Regions from separate parts of the Homo sapiens genome. Here region 1 is linked to region 2. Evidence: promoter capture Hi-C in human tissues and cell types (Jung and others, 2019). All regions are on one chromosome and are shown on one strand. Each heading gives the region's core, a stretch centred on a gene start or on the middle of the fragment in contact. The rest is flanking DNA. Distances are from core to core; before and after follow the strand shown. Region 1 overlaps FHAD1 (forkhead associated phosphopeptide binding domain 1). Region 2 holds the start of FHAD1 (forkhead associated phosphopeptide binding domain 1).

Region 1 (3,643 bases), core at 1,100-3,599, 63 kb after region 2:
TCTGTTTATGGCTGAGAGTCCAAAGGTCATCAGAAGGCACATTAAGAAACCAGGTGTCCCCAGTGGCAGCCAGGCCTGGGCCCCTTTATGGGCACAAAGATAAGGTTCATGTTTTGATGACATAGGAAGTGGTGGTCCTTGAAGGAACAGGCCCTCCCCTGTCCCTTCCACTGGTTAAAACTAAAAAGCTTGGTTTCCCCAACACCCCAGCCAAAACTCAATCTGAATCTTTCTGTCAAGCTTGTGAGAAGTACCTGTGTGTCTCCCAGACGTGGGCCAGCCCCCCTCTGACTGTGCCACCTCCTCCCACAGATCAGTGCCCTACAGAAAGGCTACAGCAAGGTGCTGTGCCAGACCCTGTCAGAGCGGAACTCAGAAATCACATCCCTGAAGAATGAGGGCGAGAACTTAAAGAGAGACAACGCTATCACATCAGGTGAGCCCTTGGAGTCGGGCCTGGGAGCTGCCACTCCCGCACCCGTTGTTCTTGGCCACAGCAGACATCACCAATCAACCACATACTTTTTGTTACTGAACTTGGCTGCAGCCTCAGAGTTCTTCCCAGCAGCCCTTTAGGCAGTTCCTGTCCATGAATCTGAGTTCACCCTCAGAGGTTTATGTGCCATCCAGTTCCTAGCATAGGGCCTGGTTTGGAGTGAGCCCTTGATAAATATTTGAGCAAATGTTATCTGTTAGCTAAAAGGCCTGCTGAGCATGGACCTCACCAGGGAACACACAGGACAAGCTGCAGCTCAGGCAGTCCCATGAGCCAGTTTGCTGTGAATGCAAACTAGAATGTGGCTAAAATGGGGTTGCCAGTTTAAGGCACCCAGCCTCTTACCCATCTCACACTGGTGCTCTTGGGCCGGAGCGAAAGCATTTTGCTAATTGAGAGGTAGCTGGATACTCAAGAACTTGGGTGGGCAAGGGGGCAGCCAACTCATGGCCCACCCTTGCCAGGCACAGCTGTTTCTTAGCCTGGATTCATTCATTCATTCATTCATTCAGCACATTTATGGAGCAGCTGCTAGATGCCAGGCACTGTTCTAGGCACTGGGGAGAGAGAGCCCTGAGCAGTCAAGATCCCTCTGCCCCTCTGCTCATGGGGCTCACACTTGGGAGAGGATGACAGACAATAAGAAGTAAAAAGATAAATGAACAAGCCCATACCAGAGAGAGATCAGTGCTCCAGAGGAAATAAAGCTGGACACCGTGGTGGGGAAGCACTCAGGGGGTGAAGTGAAGGAGAATAGCTTAGTGCAAGCTTGTCCAGCCCACGACCTGCGGGCCACATATGGCCCAGGACAGCTTTGAATGAGGCTCGACACAAATTCCTCAACTTTCCTAAAACATTATGAGATTTTTTTTTTTTAGCGATTTTTTTTTTTAGCTCATCAGTTATTATTAGCGTGAGTGTATTTTATGCGTGGCCCAAGACCCTTCTTCTTCTTCCAGTGTGGCTCAGGGAAGCCAAAAGATTGGACATCCCTGGCTTAGTGCCTGGGCAGGGATATCTCTGAGGAGGTGGGAGGGGCTGTCGGGAGGCCCCTGGGAACGGTATGCTGGGCAGAGAGCACAGGTGCAAAGGCCCCGAGGCTGGACCAAGCCACGGTGTTGGATCAACTGCCGGCGAGTGTGGCTGGAGTCAGGGAACAAGGGGCTATGGGACCTGGTGGGGTCAGGGGGGAGGCAGGGCCACATTACATGGGAGGGGTTCAGGTTTTCTTCTAAGTGTGATGGGACACGTTAGGGTTTTTAAGGCAGAGAATGGCATGTCTCGAGACCTGCAGATGATAGGGCCATGGACAGAGAAAGGGGGAAGAGAGAAAAGCAGGTGGTGGAGAGGGAATGAGTCCAGATTGGGCATATTGCTCCTAAAGTCCCCCCTGCACAGCAGGAAACATGCCCGTGGCTGTGAAAGCAGAGCGTAGCATTGAGTCAGACACAATCGCTGTCTCCGCAGGACCCAGGCCGCCTGGCCGTGGCTTTCCCTCTGCCTCACTCTGCAGTCCCCCTCCCCACTCCAGGCTTCTACCTCTGTTCTTCCCTAACATGGAATGTTCTTGGATACTTGTGAGCCCTATGGGCAGGGCTGCTCTGGGCACCAGGCATCCCAGGGGGATCTCGCTGGGCCCTGCCCTCCTCCCCAGCGTCTGTCCATCACACCCCATCCACGCTACAAGCCTGTCTCAGACACCACTCCTCTAATCAAGGAGTCAGACAGACCTGGGCTCAGGTATGGCCTGGGATGGGCTACACTCTCACGGCCCCAAGTGTGGTCCCTGGACCAGCAGCATCAGCATCACCTGGATCCTTGTGAGAAACTGGGAATTTCAGGCCCCACTCCTGACCTTCCGATCAGAATCTTCATTTTCACAAGCCTCCCGGCTGCTGCTTGTGCACACTTAAGCTCGAGAAGCACTGGGCCGGGTTACGCTGCAGTGACAAACAGTCCCCCAAGTCTCAGTGGCTCACAATAGACAGGTTCAGCTCCTGCTTCCACCCTGAGCCCATCATGGGTCAGTAGGGGCTTTGGTCATTGTGGCCACACAGTGACCCAGGCTCACAGAAGCCATCACAACACATCACAAACCCCATCTTCCACAGGAAGAGAGGCAGATGGAGGAACAAGGTGCGGATTTCCTCACCTGCCTGAAACAACTCAAACAAACAAACAAAAACCAAACAAACAGAAAAAAATGTCTGAAATAATGGTTTCCATCTATTGGCCCCAAGAAGCATGTGACGATGATCTGGGAGGGAGTGGAAACAAACAAGATGAAATCTACGATTGCCCCCGGCTGGCTTGCGCTGGAGAGAGTTTCCAGACCACAGCAGGGAGGGGAAGCCAGACAGAGCCCAGTGGTCAGCCCGACTTGAGGAGATGGAGGTGGAGAAGCCAGCACAGCTTGAGTTTGCTGGGTGGCGTGCCAGGCGGGAGGGGGCTGCACGGAGAGCACCCCGGAGATCTCAGAGGGTCCGCCTCAAGTCTTCAGCAGAGTCAGGTGTGATGAGCACGTGCATGTGGGCAGGGAAGGAACCACCCAGGAGGAGCAGAGGGAACCATCTCGAAGCCCACGTAGGCCTGAGAGTAGCTCACTTTCCCACCATCCAGAATGGGGCAACCTTGCACTACACAGGGCACCTGGTAGAGACTCAAGCCAAATTCATTCTAGAGAAAAGGTCACTCTGGTCCCGCCTCACAAAGCATGCAGGCAAGCCCCAGAGAGAGCAGTCTGTTTCTAAGGAACTTAACTGTGTCCCCGGACGAAGCTCATTTTTACAATGAAATTCTGAATCATGTTGTTCTTTATTACACATCCTTGATTGTGCAATAAAGATTGATTCTTGATTGATACCCACCAATAAAACTAGGATGAATGTTTTTCTAAGAAAAGGACCGTATGAGATAACCCAATACCACTGCATTATGCACCCTTCTTCTCACTTTTTCTCAATGTGATAATACAATAATATATTGACTATCTGCTGTCACATAAGTTATCCCAAAAAAGCAACAAATATGTTTATCTTACCCGGTTTCTGTGGTTCAGGAACTTGGGAGTGACTTAGTCTGGCTCAGGGTCTCTCACGAGGTTGCAGGAGCTACTGCTGTCATGTCATCTAAAGCCCGACTAGGGCT
Region 2 (4,200 bases), core at 6-2,505:
AGTCTGTTCTCACACTGCTATAAAGTAATTCCTTGAGACTGAATAATTTACAAAGAAAAGAAGTTTAATTGACTCACAGTTCTGCACTGCTAGGGAGGCCTCAGGAAACTTACAGTTATGGCGGAAGGCCAAGGGGAAGCAAGGAAGCTAGCATGTTGTAACATGGTGTAGCAGGAGAGAGAGAGAGCAAAGGGGGAAGTGCCACACTTTTAAACCATCAGATCTCATGAGAACTCACTCGCTATCATGAGAAAAGCAAGCGGGAAGTCTGCCCCCATGATTCAATCACCTCCCACCAGGCCCCTCTTCCAACACGTGGGGAGTGCAATTCGAGATGAAATTTGGGTGGGGACACACAGCCAAACCGTATCACTAGGGTAGAATGTGCCATAGTTCATCTCTCTTAGAAAAACGTTTAGAGTTTTTCTTGAGGTGTCTGGTCAGCCATTTCCTGCCAGTGAAAGGAATCACTCTCCAGGTAGAGTCAGCAGGAGATAGGATTTCCTGCTGGAGATAGTGGCGGGAGATAGGATTTGCACATCTGCTCAACACACTCCATCCCGCGAGTCCTGTGCCGGCTGACAAGCGGTTTCTTAAGGACAGTAACTGTTCCAGGTGTATTCTGGGATCAGCGTGTGACACTCATAGGACTCAAAAGATGTTTGCAGAGATAGAGAAAGGGCAAAAGAATGAATAAATGTCACTCTTAACAGGGAGGAGCAGAGGCAGCAGGATTGTGAGTTTGGAAATATTTTTTCCCCAGCACATGGAAGAAATCCTCATTCTTTCAAAATTTTTCATTCCACCCCATCCCTTTCCCAATCCCCACCCCACTCCCAGAGATCCCCTCTTCTTACTCTTTCTATTTTCTGGCCTGTAACGGAAAGGACTAGAGATTTGGGTAGGGCAGGGGGCATACTAACCTCCAAGGGTCTCATGAGTTCAGCTCCATCAATCTCCTACCTCTCCCTATCGCCCCCGACCCTCCCTCAACGCATCCAGCTTACAGTGAGGGGTAATGGAAAGGATTCTTGAATCAAATCTCCTCCCTGCTCCTTCCTCGCTGTAAAACCTTGGGCCATTTCTGTGACCTCTGAGCCTCCGCTTTCCTATCTGTGAAATGGGGCAGGCTCGTGGGGCCTGGAGCATTCAGCAGGCGGTAACCCAGTGGGCGTTCCCTGCACGGTGCCACGCCCCCTCTGCCGCGCAGGCCACGCCCTCATCTATTAGGCTGGACCCCGCGGCGCCTGGCGGCGTTGCCATGGCAACGCGCGTACACAGGCCGGCCGGGCGGGCGGGGTGCCGGGTGCGAGCTGGAGACTCCGCGGGAGCGCGGCCGGGAGGCTTCGCCCCGGAGCTGGCCCGACGCCTCCCGAGCTGGCAGGGCTCTCGGCGGAGGTCGGAGCGTGGGCTTCCTCCTCCCGCCAGGTGAGTGCGGCGCGGGAAGGGGTGGCGGGCCGAGACCGGGGACCGGAAGGGGCGGCCCAGCGAGGACTAGCCCTGGCAGGAGGAGGGGTGGCTCCCCGGCCCCATCCTCCTGGATCCAGGCTCCGGTCCCCAGGAGCACCCCAGTAGCTACCCCAACACCAGCCCCTCCTTTCCAGATGCAGGCCCCACCCCGCCCGCGGAGGAAGCCCCCGGGAGCCTTAGACCCTCCTTGGCACCAGCCATGCCACTCTGGGAAGTCCTGGGGGTTACAGCTGGGATTAGGAGGGGCATCCCTGCTGCCCCTGACTTACGAACGACACCCACCCGGCGGTCAGAGAGACTCCCCCCTTGCCTAACCTCTCCCTTCCCAAATACAACACTGAGGAATTTCTAGGGCTCCCAGGCCACTTAAGATCTGGTAACCCCTCAACAGAAATTTTGCTTCTCTATCTCACTTGTGACCTATAAGCAGGGAGTGCAGATGCCTGAAGCTCTTTTGCTCTTTTGCATGGTCGGTGCCCTGTGTCTTAGAACTAATTTACAGAGTTTAACGCATCTAATCACTTTCTACAGTGTTTTCAGGTAGGAAAGTGACTGCACAGGGCAAGATTAAAGTGGGGAAATAGGGCCCAACCCATTCAGCTAAAGAAATAGACTTTTTTTTTTTTTTCCAGAATGTCATCTAGGATAAATACTGAAGGGGAAAATGAAAGGTAGTTACTGTCAGAGGTTCTTAGGCTACCCTGACTTACTTTTAAGCATTGTTTTGTACTTTCATTCATTCATGATTTACTGAGCACCACTATGTGTCAGGCATGGCAGCGCTGGGGGCCAGAGGGGAGTAATGAACAGACTGTGAGGAAATGCAAAGGGTCTGAGATTTTTACACTACTTGCAAGCTAAGTTAGCCTGCCACTGCTTAATGATGCTAGCAGAAGACCAGAGACTCCAGGACCAGAGACAAAGGATGTTATTACTCACAGCACAGCAGGCACTGTGAGCTCATGTTTGCGTTGGTTCCCCTTGCCCTGCAAGTACCCCGGGGTGATGCAGGACAGCTCAGGTGGATGCTGTGCACACTGCGAGTCTGTTTCCCAGCTAAGGAACCCCAAGCTCAGGAAACTCCAGTCTTTTAAAAGGGGCTGCTAGCCAGTGCCCAACCTTTGCCCTGGAAGGAGATGACCTTTTTTTTTTTTTTTTAATTGAGACAGAGTCTTGCTCTGTCTCCCAAGCTAGATAGAGTGCAGTGGCACAATCTCAGCTCACTGCAACCTCTGCTGCACGGTTTCAAGTGATTCTCCTGCCTCAGACTTCCGATTAGCTGGGACTACAGGTGCAAGCCACCATGCCCGGCTAATTTTTTTGTGTTTTTAGTAGAGACAGGGTTTCGCCATGTTGGCCAGGCTGGTCTCAAACTCCTGACCTCAGGTGATCCGTCCACCTGGGCCTCCCAAAGTGCTAGGATTACAGGCATGAGCCACCGTGCCCAGCCAGAGATGACATTTTTATCATAAATCTGCACTCTGCCCTGGATAGGGACACTATCCCTATCCTCTCAGGATATTTGCCCTACAGATGTCCTTGGAAGATTGTCTGGAACAAAATCTGTCAGTGTCTTTGCTCTGAAGATGGGTACAAACACAGGAAACCCATGGAGAATTGAGTTTAACAAAAACAACACAGTTTGGGCTCTCTTGGAACGTATCTCAGTGAAAGGGAAACAGTAAACAGCTAAGTAAAGAACAAGAAAATGACAGAGAATGATAAGCTCAAGGAAGGAGCCACAGCAGTGACACATGCTAGCTAGACAACAAAGTGACTGGTGACGCCTTTAGCTGGGGTGGTCAGGTAGCTACCGCAAGGCACCAGCTGTGGAAACATCGGGGGGAAGAGCTAAAAAAAAAAAAAAAGCCAGTCATTCAGATTTGGGGTTTTACTCTGGAGGCATTTCCTGTGGCTTTCCCACAAAAGAGACATTTCTCGAAAGTTGACTTTAGATTACTTTTACTTTAGTTTGGATGTGGTGCTTGATGATGTAGTCCTCTGCAATTGAAGATTAATAACTCAGGCAATTTGAGGGCAACAGGGCATGGTTCTTTTGGAAAAAGAAGTGTCTTTTTATCCCTATTAAAGACAGCAGACTTAAAAATAAAATTCTCATTATATGAAAGTATTAATATTTCTGAGGATTTCTCATAGGCTTCGGAATTTACAAACATAAACTATCTGGCTTGTTTTTATTTCTCTTACTCCCAAGGGTCTTTTCTTTTTTTGCAGAGGATAGAATTCTGGTGTTAAGGGCTATCTGTTATTTCATGTCCTAAGTGTCAACAAAACAGTGACAACCCCACTATCCCAAGTGACAACCTCTCCCTCCCCCCACTCAGTCACTCTCTCTGCTCCCCCATCCCATCCCCTCCCCACCCAGCAGTGATGGAGGTGTGAAAAGTTGAGCTGCCTGAGGATTATGTAGTGGTGACATGCAATGGCAATCTCCCTGCCCGAATGCTAGGGGACCTTAACCTCTCTGCATCTCAGTCTCCTTTTCTGTAAAGTAGGGACAATAATGACACCCACCTTGCAGGGTTTCTCTGAGGATGAAAAGAGTATATTCAAGGAAAAGTGCCTGGCACTTACTAAGGACTCCATAAATGATGATAGAGATGATGATGAAAAGCAGAGCCAGCCCCGAGAGTCCGTACCACCACAACTAGTTGATTTTTGTTTTTACCCATAGTCCAATAATTTGTCATTTCACTGACTTTTCAATTG

What was found. Contacts are between HindIII fragments. The study calls those that stand out against the background at their distance.
Region 1: a fragment that was not itself captured here is called in contact with the fragment with the promoter of FHAD1 in region 2 in 1 of the 25 tissues and cell types used here (aorta).

What each region holds. Positions count from the first base shown.
Region 1 is chr1:15,308,301-15,311,943 of GRCh38, forward strand. It overlaps FHAD1 (forkhead associated phosphopeptide binding domain 1), which reads left to right. Exons shown (of 34, transcript NM_001391957.1): 7 at 313-436. Among named protein-coding and RNA genes, the nearest start is that of FHAD1-AS1, 34 kb to the right of the region's middle. The HindIII fragment of the contact is 6,121 bases long and covers 1-3,643 here.
Region 2 is chr1:15,245,968-15,250,167 of GRCh38, forward strand. FHAD1 (forkhead associated phosphopeptide binding domain 1) reads left to right here and starts at 1,256. Exons shown (of 34, transcript NM_001391957.1): 1 at 1,256-1,428. RefSeq lists silencers at 1,091-1,264, 1,282-1,521. The HindIII fragment of the contact is 8,594 bases long and covers 1-4,200 here.